Linked DNA regions of Homo sapiens: region 1 is linked to region 2. Evidence: promoter capture Hi-C in 16 types of primary human blood cells and fetal thymus (Javierre and others, 2016). All regions are on one chromosome and are shown on one strand. The core of a region is centred on a gene start or on the middle of the fragment in contact, and the rest is flanking DNA. Distances in the headings are between cores, read along the strand shown.

Region 1 (5,567 bases), core at 314-2,813, 260 kb before region 2:
TTTTAGTAGAGACAGGGTTTCACCATGTTGACCAGGCTGGTCTCAAACTCCTGATCTCAAGTGATCCACCCATCTCAGCCTCCCAAAGTGCTGGGATTACAGGTGTAAGCCAGAGTGCCTGGCCAAAGATTGGATTTATTAATCAGTTTTACTTTATTTTTGCCCATACCAAATTTTGTCTCTTATAATTTCTACCAAAGTAAGTTTTATTTTGTGCCCGCTCCCTGTCCCTTTTTTTTTTTTTTTTTTTTTTTTTTTTTTTTTTTTTGAGACAGAATTTTGCTCTTGTTGACCAGGCTGGAGTGCAATGGTGTGATCTTGGCTCACCTCAACCTCACCTCCCGGGTTCAAGCAATTCTCCTGCCTCAGCCTCCCGAGTAGCTGGAATTACAGGCATGTGCCACTACGCCCAGCTAATTTTTGTGTTTTTAGTAGAGACAGGGTTTCTCCATGTTGGTCAGGGTGGTCTCGAACTCCCGACTTCCGGTGATTCGCCCACCTTGGCCTCCCAAAGTGCTGGGATTACAGGCATGAGCCACCGCACCCAGCCTTTTTTTTTTTTTTTTTTTTTTGAGACGGAGTCTTGCTTGTTACCAGGCTGGAGTGCAGTGGCGCCATCTCGGCTCATTGCAACCTCCACCTCCCGGGTTCAAGTGATTCTCCTGCCTCAGCCTCCAGGTATTTTTAGTAGAGACAGGGTTTCACCATGTTGGCCAGGATGGTCTCGATCTCTTGACCTCGTGATCCACCCACCTGGGCCTCCCAAAGTGCTGGGATTACAGGAATAAGCCACCGCGCCCTGCCCCTCTGCCTTTTTTCTTATCAAGACCAGTTTTTCTGGGTTAAGAAGACTTGAATGTCAGTTTTTCAATCAGCACAAAAGTATACTGTGTGTAACTCTGTCTTCTTCCATTTTATTTTGTGCTATTTCTATCTGTAGTATTGAATGAAGATCAAGCAGAAAAAAGATTAATAGTTATATTCATTTCATGGAGTTACAATCATACATGAGGCAAGTATGTAAAATTTTAGATTATAGTAGGGTTAGAATAAAGAGGTCAAAACATCCTGTGTTGCTCACAGGCATCTCAAATTCAATTTGACTATCGCTGAATTCATCATCCTACCTAAAACCTTCTGAGAAATCCGGCAGGGCAAAAAACAGAAGCAATTTATTCCCTTCCTCCCAACCCTAGCCCAGCAACTTTTTTGTTCTTCAATATTCAATTCAAATGCCACCTTTCTTAGAAACATTTTCTGACTTACCTTCCTGCAGATAATTATAATAATTATTATTGTTATTATTAAAACAATTTATAATAAAATGATAGTCAATGTTATTGAGAATTTACTAGATGCCAGACATGTATGATCTAATTTGATCCTCATAAGAATCTTACATACACTTGTAATCCCAGTGCTTTGGGAGGCCAAGGCAGGAGGATTGCTTGAGCCTAAGAGTTTGAGACAAGCCTGGACAACAAAGTGAGAAACTGTCTCTTAAAAAAAAAAAAAAGATCTTACATTGTGGGTAAGTACAGGTGACCCTTGAAAAACATGGGGGGTGCCTAGAGGCGCTGACCCCACACACAGTAAAAAAAATTTACATAAAACTTTTCGTTGTTATTGAGACATAGTCTGCCACTGTCACCCAGGTCAGAACGCAGTGGCACAATCATAGCTCACTGCAGCCTCAAACTCCTAGGCTCAAGTCATTCTCCCACCTCCACCTCCCAAGTAGCTGGGACTACAGAAGTACATCACCATGCCTGGCTGATATTTTTATTTTTGTAGAGATGGGGTCTTGTTATGTTGCCCAGGCTGGTCTTGAACTCTTGGCCTTAAGTGATTCTCTTGCCTCAGCCTCCCAGAGTGCTGGAATTACAGGAGTGAGTAACTGTGCCCAGCCCATTATTATTATTATTATTATTATTATTATTATTATTTTGAGACAGAGTCTTGCCCTGTTGCCCAAGCTGGAGTGCAGTGGTACAATCTCGTCTCACTGTAACCTCCGCCTCCCGGGTTCAAGTGATTCTCCTGCCTCAGCCTCCCTAATAGCTGGGATTACAGGTGTCTGTCACCACGCCTTGCTAATTTTTATATTTATAGTAGAGATGGTGTTTCACTTTGTTGGCCAGGCTGGTCTTGAACTCCTGACGTCAGGTGATCCGCCCACCTTGGCCTCCCAAAGTGTTGTATTGGGATTTTAGGCATAAGCTACCATGCCCGGACTTATTATTATTATTGAGACCAACTCTCTCACTCTGATGCCCAGGCTGGAGTGCAGTGGTGCGATCTCGGCTCACTGCAACCTCTGCCTCCTAGGTTCAAGTGATTCTCCTCCCTCAGCCTCCCAAGTACCTGGGACTACAGGCTTTTGCCACCATGCTGGCTAATTTTTGTATTTTTAGTAGAGACAGAGTTTCACCATGTTGGCCAGGCTGGCTGTCTTGATCTCCTGACCTCAAGTAATCTGCCCATCTCAGTCTCCCAAAGTGCTGGGATTACAGGTGTGAGCCACCATGCCTGGCCCTATTATTTTTTTTTTTAGAAACGAGTATCACTATGTTGCCCAGGCTGGATTCAAATTCCTGAGCTCAAGGATTCCTCCCAACTCAGCCTCCTAAGTAGCTGAGACTACAGGAACATACCACCAAACTTGACTTGCATATAACTTTTGACTCCCCCAAAACTTAACTATTAATAGCCTTCTGTTGATCAAAAGCCTTACTAATGACATAAAGTATCAATTAACACATATTTTGTATGTTTTATGTATTATATACGTATTCTTGCAATAAAGTAAGCCAGTGAAAAGAAAATGTTATTAGGAAATCATAAGGGGCTGAGAGCAGTGGCTCACGCCTATAATCCCAGCACTTCGGGAGGCCGAGGTGGGTGAATCATCTAAGGTCAGGAATTCGAGACCAGCCTGACTGACATGGTGAAACCCTGTCTCTACTAAAAATACAAAATTAGCCGGGTATGGTGGTGCATGCCTGTAATCCCAGCTGCTTGGGAGGCTGAGACAGGAGAATTGCCTGAACTGGGAGGTGGAGGTTTTAGTGAGCCAAGATCATACCACTGCACTCCAGCCTGGGTAACAAGAGCAAAACTCCACCTCAAAAAAAAAAAAAAAAAAAAAAGGAAACCATAAGGAAGAAAACATGTATTTACTAGCCATTAAGTGGAAGTGGACCATCATAAAGGGCTTCATCCTCATCATCTTTACAATAAGTAGGTTGTGGAGGGGGAAGAAGATGGGTGAGTCTTGCTGTCTCGGGGTGGTAGGGGCAGAGGGAGAAAATCTATGCCTAAGTGAATCTGCACAGTTGAAACCCATGTTGTTCAAGGATCAACTGTACTATTATTGGTCTCATTTTTAACAAACAACACTGAAGCTTATAGAAGCTTAGTAACTTACTCAAGATCACACAACCTGCAATTGCAGAGTCAGGATCTAAAGTCAGATCTGTTGGACCCATGGCCTGAGCTCTTAACCACTACAGCATTCCCCCTTCTGTCATACTTGTCTTATCACACTTAACACGTTATGTTGTCATTAATTTATTTTTAATTTCTTCTCTATTAGACTGTGAACTCTTTGAGAATAAGGACTGTCATGGCTGTACCCCCAGTGCCTTGTACACCTTAATATATCACAGGTGATTAACAGATGCTTAAGAAATGATTGGCTCCCATTCCAAACCAAAGATAATTTTAAAACTTCAGGTGAGATTTTGTGAGTTCACCCCTAAGTCAGGGTCACTGCCAGACTCTCTCCAACCTTGACCCACAGTTCCTTTTTTTTTTGGATGGAGTCTCACTTTGTCACCCAGGCTGGAGTGCAGTGGCGTGATCTCGGCTCATGCAACCTTTGTCCCCCGAGTTCAAGTGATTCTCCTGCCTCAGCCTCCAGAATAGTTGGGATTACAACTGCCACCATGCCCCGCTAATTTTTTTTGTATTTTTAGTAGAAACAAGGTTTCACCTTCTTGGCCAGGCTGGTCTTGAACTCCTGACCTCGTGATCCACCCGTCTCAGCCTCCCAAAGTGCTGCGATTACAGGAGTGAGCCACCGCACCTGGCTGACCCACAGTTCTATCATCAGGATCTTGGCTTATTCCTGGACACCAAATCCCTTCCTTCGTGTGTCCTATTCCAGTGAGCAAGAATTGGCTCCTGTCATGCTGCCCCATTCTTTCAGGCCTGGGATCTCACTCTGCCCTCTCACTTACTCCTTCTGGTGGCTGACTCTCCCCAGTGTCAGATCCTTCCCAGCTTAGTCTAAAACTTTGTCTTTTCTGTGTACTAGGACATCCTTACCTTACAGGTGCCTATGATCTGTTCCTTTAGGCTGTTAGCAATTCAGAAGCCATATGGCCCATGGGGTGGTCTGAATCACCTTATAAAACCCTAAACAGAATCTCATTCCCCAAACAAAGAAAAGCCCATGGAAGACCCCTAATAGCTTCTAACCACTATCCTCACCAAAAGTCAGGAGCCTCCCCTTCCAATGTCATTATTGACCCTGCTGGGACAGTGTGATCATCGCAGGGCCTGTTGAAGGCAACCGTCTTCTTCCGCATTCTGTTGGGGCAGGGGATTGGAGGGTGGGATACTGGTATGTTTACGTGTGTGTGTGTATGCCTTGAGGATGAGTGATCTATCTGAATAGAACACCTTCAAACAGAAAGCCCTGCACCAGAGAGGTTCCTAATCTTCCAGGAAGCAGATGAACACATTAGATTTAAGGTGTAGTTCAGCCTTGGAGAAAAAGCTTCAAGAACAGCTGGTTGATGCTCACCTGAATCCTTTATGGGAAATAGGAGCTTAGGAATTCCCCTAAGACTTACAGCAGATGTTTTTGTTTGATGATGATGGTGAGGGGTAGGGATAGAGTGGAGAAAAGAGAAACGGCAGAACTTAGCAACTGTCCTACTGAGTCCTTGAGTAGACACAGTTAACTTTTGAAGACATACTCTTGTTTACCTATTATAACTTGTTTGGCCACTGCTTTACAGTTTTCAGGTACTTCCAGATCTAAGTAAGTTTCCAGACCTCATTTAAACCTTCCCAAATATCTAGAGACTAAATGTATTCATTTCCTAGGGCTGCTGTAACAAAGCAACAGAAACTGGTTGGCCTAAGACAACAGAAATGTATTGTCTCACAGTCTGGAGACTAAGTCTGAAATCAAGGTTGTTTCCTTCTGAGGGCTGTCCTGGAACATCTTTTCCATGGCTCTTGCCTAGCTTCTTGTGGTTTGCTGGCAAACTTTGGCCTTCCTTGGCTTGTACATGTGTTACGCTGATCTCTGCCTACATCTTCACATAGCATTCTCCCTGTGTGACTGTCTAAATTTCCCCTTTATATAAACACACCAGTCATTTTGAATTAGGGCCCACCCTAATACCTCATTCTATTTTCTATTCTATTGCCTCTGTAAAAACCCCATTTCTCTCTCTCTCTCTTTTTTTTTTTTTTAAGACAGGTTTCGCTCTTGTTGCCTAGGCTTGAGTGCAGTGGCATGATCTCGGTTCACTGCAACCTCCGTCTCCCGG
Region 2 (5,154 bases), core at 2,112-4,611:
ATTCCATTCCAATTGCTCTTGTAAGTCTGCTTTGCTACCTTCCCCTGCTTTTTTACTTATTTTACCCTCTGGACCTCTCTTCTGTCATCCCCTTCTTCTACTTTCTCCCCTAGCATCTCAGCCCTCTTGAGGCCAAGGCCTGCTACATCTAATATTTCTATTTCTGTCCTTTGCTTGCTCCTGTCCAGACCCAGTCTTCTCACTGGTTGCAAAGTGGGTCCAGTTCTACCACTGGAAACAGATTTTGGCAAATAGAGACCTTCTGATCTCCTCCCTCACCAGACCAATGGACCATTTTTGTGAACAGTATGACGACCCTTCCTGGGTATTGCTCACATGCACCCCTCATGGTGCTTACCTAGGGTCCATATTGCCTGGTGTAATTTCCTTCCCATGGACCTTCTGGCCACCTGCCTTCACCTACGACTGCAGCATTTCTCCATGTCTGCCACTGTGACTAGATCACTCCAGTGATCCTCTGATGGCCTTAGGATCCAACACACATTGGTAACCAGGGCCATTATAGCACTCAAGCTTCTGGTATATTTCTTTATTCCAGTCCATCTTGCTGAATCCCTCTGTTTCCTACCTGTGAGTGCCCCTCTATGAATGCTGATTTGATTCCAGGTACTATACTAGGCTGTGGAGTCAGAGATGACCAAGATACAGCCTTGCTCTCAGTATTTTTTGATGGAAGAATGATGATATGCACATACACGAATACAGAGCAAAGCAGTAGGTGGCAAGTGATTAAGCAAGTCACTAAATCTTATGAAAGCACAGAGGGGAATATTTAGAAGTAAACTCTATAAAAATAAAAATTCTGAACTACCTAATAAGAATATTACTAACTCTACCAAGTTGACCAATTAAATTATTTAATCAGTTAATATTTGATTCTGTTTTTAACCTTCCCTTAAATATATGGCTTAAAGACTAAACTTCCAGTAAATTTTTTCTAAGTAATGTACTCTTTCTCTGACTCATTATTTCATTTATTGATATCTTATTTTGACTCTAGCAATGTCTGTAACCATTAAAGTTCTGTAAATAAATGCAGTCTTTTGACTATAGTACATAAGACAACATCCCTCTTTGTAAATACCCCAACCCCTTATTAGAAACTATATTGAGGCCAGGTGCGGTGGATCACGCCTGTAATCCCAGCACTTTGGGAAGCTGAGGTGGGTGGATCACCTGAGGTCAGGAGTTTGAGAACAGCCTGGCCAACATGGTGAAACCCCGTCTCTACTAAAACTACAAAAATTAGCCGGGTGTAGTGGCACGTGCCTGTAATCCCAGCTAATCCCAGCTACTTGGGAGGCTGAGGCAGGAGAATCGCTTGAACCTGGGAGGCAGAGGTTGCAGTGAGCTGAGATCGCACTACTGCATTCCAGCCTGGGTGACACAGCAAGACACCATCTCAAAAAAAAAAAAAAAAAAAGAAAAAAAGAAACTATATTGAATCCTCATTCCATACCCCAAGTGCATGAAATGATGTGTTGTAACTGGTGGGTGGGTTTGGTCAGTCCAGGTTGGCTGATAGGTTTATTTATCAGAACAGACTTTAAGAGGTTGTCACTGAATTGCAAGAGATGCCTTTCAAGTAACTTGCATCTGGGTGCTTTGCACCTTTCATTTCCCTCTCCCTTCTCATTGCTTGTACATCTCCTTTCTGGCTTGCTTTCTCTCAGGCCCTTTTTCAGGATGCATATTGTGTCAAATATAAATTTGGAAAACCTAGCCAGAGAATACTTGACTTGAGGGAGACAACCCTAAGAACATTGACCTGCAGTGGGCACTCCGGTGGGGCTAGAGTGTTCACTAGCCTGCCCCAAGTGTGACTTCTGCTTGTGTGTATCACCCATTTCTTTATTCATTTAGTACATATTTTCCAAGCGATTTCTCTGTGCCTCAGACACTGTGTGAGGTCCTAGGGACACAATGGTGTGCAGAAGGGAAAACTGTTGTTGCCCTCACATGGGGGAGGTAGCAACAATTACAAATTTACAGGAATAAATATGTGATAATAATATCCTAGCTCAACATAGAAAGGAAGTTATCTCAGTATTTACCTAACAGTTTTGTAATGTGTGTGTGCGCGCGCGTATATGTCTTCTTCTTTTCTCTTTGTTAAGTGTGAGTGGAGAAGATGATGGCTAACACTGAGTTCTGTCATGGCCATGGCACTTTTATACCCACATTCTTTCTTTTAATCATGGAATTCTCCACCCCAGCCCTCACCCCGTGGATGTCGGAGTAAGACAACATTGTTATCACTCAGATTGTCATTGGGAGGGTGAATAAATGAATGCTTGCATTATGAGAGTTTGGGGGCAGAAATATGCCACAGACTCTTATCTGAAGCCATCAGATTTAGTGGCTGCGAACCCACCGAAGTCAGGGATTTACATTTTTTACAGCAACGAGAGAAAACTTCCCCTTTCCTCTGCAGAAGTCAGGACTGGATCTCAAAAATAGAAATGTGTCCTCCTAAATGTGTGCCCATCCCCGTGGTTGACAAACAACGGATTTCCCAAGATAGCTGCCACACACTTGGTTTCTAATCTCTGTATTGCTTCCCCGCCAGAATGTCGAAGTCCTTCCCGAATATGCCCAGTCATACTTTCTGAACTTTTGAGCAAACACCGTCCGGCTTCTTGTGCTTTCCTCAAAGACCCCAGGCACCGGCAGGGAGGACACAGGCCGGGGCAGAGCGCCCCTGCGCGGGGGATTCCTGCCACTCCGCGCCAGCCTGCGGCGCAAACGCTCTTCTCAGCCGCAGTCCCACCCGCTGCTGGCAATCTGAATGAGGAGCCGCGCTATTTTTACCTCCCCGGCTGCAATCCTTTATATTTACATGCAGGAAGCAAATATATAAGGGATTAAGAAGGAGATGCGTGGCCTTAGTTTATCCAGAGCAGGAAGAGGTTGGAATAGGAGAGGGTATGTGAAGTCTGGGGTGGTGGAAAAGGCAGGTGGACTTCGGCTGGTTGTTTTCTCCCGATCATCCCTGTCTCTGGCCTGGAAACCCCCGTACTCTCTTTCTTCTGGCTTATCCGTGACTGCCGGCTCCCCCTCCACCGCCCCCATCTTTTGAGGTACCACCCGTCACCTCCGATGCTGCTTGGGCTGCTGCATCACTCTGCTGCTTTACCCCCTTCCCCGCCCCCCAACAAAGCATGCGCAGTGCGTTCCGGGCCAGGCAACAGCAGCAGCACAGCATCCAGCAACAGCATCAGCACCCGAAGCCCCGCTCGGGCGCGCTCTCGGGGGGCGGGGCGCACGCCCGCTCCGCGCGTCCCCGCGCCGCTCGCTCCCGCGCGTCCCCGCGCCGCTCGCTCCCGCGCGCCGCCTCAGCATCCTCAGGCCCGGCGGCAGCCCCCGCAGTCGCTGAAGCGGCCGCGCCCGCCGGGGGAGGGAGTAGCCGCTGGGGAGGCTCCAAGTTGGCGGAGCGGCGAGGACCCCTGGACTCCTCTGCGTCCCGCCCCGGGAGTGGCTGCGAGGCTAGGCGAGCCGGGAAAGGGGGCGCCGCCCAGCCCCGAGCCCCGCGCCCCGTGCCCCGAGCCCGGAGCCCCCTGCCCGCCGCGGCACCATGCGCGCCGAGCCGGCGTGACCGGCTCCGCCCGCGGCCGCCCCGCAGCTAGCCCGGCGCTCTCGCCGGCCACACGGAGCGGCGCCCGGGAGCTATGAGCCATGAAGCCGCCCGGCAGCAGCTCGCGGCAGCCGCCCCTGGCGGGCTGCAGCCTTGCCGGCGCTTCCTGCGGCCCCCAACGCGGCCCCGCCGGCTCGGTGCCTGCCAGCGCCCCGGCCCGCACGCCGCCCTGCCGCCTGCTTCTCGTCCTTCTCCTGCTGCCTCCGCTCGCCGCCTCGTCCCGGCCCCGCGCCTGGGGGGCTGCTGCGCCCAGCGGTGGGTATGGCCCCGTGCCCTTTGCGTTGGCTTTCCCGCGGGGCCCTGCAGAGGAAAGCGAAGGGCGCGCGGGTCCGTGTGCTCCGGGCTTGTCCCCGGCTCGGCCTTTCCTTCCCTCCCTGCCTGTCTTTCCACCCTTCTCGTTCCCAAACCCCCATTCATCCCAGTTCACTTTTGGAAGTCCATTTCTGTTGCATTCGCGAAAAACCCATTCCAATTCTTGTTGGTTCCACTGGGAGGTGTTTAGTGGATCCTGGGTCCCTCAGCGATCTCTGTGCAACTTGCGGAGGGGCAACCAGTGGATGGGAAATACAGCGAGGGAGCAAGTTGCTACTTGCGTGGTGGAACCTTAATGTGAATGCGGGGAGGATGTAGTGATAATAGTGGTAATGGGCTGTTTCCTCAAATTTCGTATCCGGCGCATTCAGTGCGGTTGGAATTAAGGTGGGGGAGGCACACTTCGGGGACCAAAGAATTAAGGTGCTGAAGACATACTTCATGCACGACCTTTGGTTCTGATTTCTCAAAGTGCTTGTCATTATAATGAACAATTAATATAATACCATCTTCTATATATTGATGATTGGAAGTCACTGAAAGCAGAAAGCTGGCTTTGTCAGGAAAATAAAAAGAAATTGGGAAGCTGCCAGCATCTGTATCCCTACATGGCAAAGTATGTTTGCTCATCTTAAAGTTAAAAGAGAAGGGAATTGTCCATTTTGTTAAAAGAGTCGATTAATATTCGGTATCCATAAATTCAGTACTCAAGTTATCTTAGGAGCGTTCTTAGCTCTTGGATGGGATGCCACTAGGCAGAGTAGAGTTGTGCTTCTGTGGACTCAGAGAAGGGGTGGAGATCGGGGGCAGGACCCCTGAACATGTTCATTTAATGACTCTTCTTCCCTCAAGTTCATTCTACCCCCCCCCCAACACTTAGAAGTATAGATTTGAGTCTGACTAGAAATGTATATATAAGACATAAATCAAAATAAATAGTGCACAGTTGTATAAGCCTTATTGGCTATTTATTAACTTCTCCAGGCCATTTTATTGTTGAAATAACTTGCTTTACTCTAGCTCTACTTCTTAACTGCTTATAAATAGAAAACTTTGTGTTTGAAATTAAAGGAAAAATGCATTTTAGTGCTTATGTATTTATGGGGTAAATATGTGTGTGTTTGTGTATGTTTGTATTTTCTGCTCCCCCACCCCCCTACCTCCACCAGCTCCGCATTGGAATGAAA

What was found. Contacts are between HindIII fragments. The CHiCAGO score rates a contact against its expected background, and 5 or more counts as called.
Region 1: a contact is called between a fragment that was not itself captured here and the fragment with the promoter of ADAM23 in region 2, in 1 of 17 cell types (megakaryocytes). The highest score is 5.1, in megakaryocytes.

What each region holds. Positions count from the first base shown.
Region 1 is chr2:206,178,825-206,184,391 of GRCh38, forward strand. The region is part of intron 1 of CMKLR2 (chemerin chemokine-like receptor 2); the gene reads right to left. Among named protein-coding and RNA genes, the nearest start is that of SNORA41, 19 kb to the left of the region's middle. The HindIII fragment of the contact is 3,678 bases long and covers 1-3,402 here.
Region 2 is chr2:206,440,171-206,445,324 of GRCh38, forward strand. It overlaps ADAM23 (ADAM metallopeptidase domain 23), which reads left to right and starts at 3,362. Exons shown (of 26, transcript NM_003812.4): 1 at 3,362-3,910; 2 at 5,137-5,154. The coding sequence starts at 3,697. RefSeq lists a silencer at 3,807-3,936. The HindIII fragment of the contact is 8,746 bases long and covers 533-5,154 here.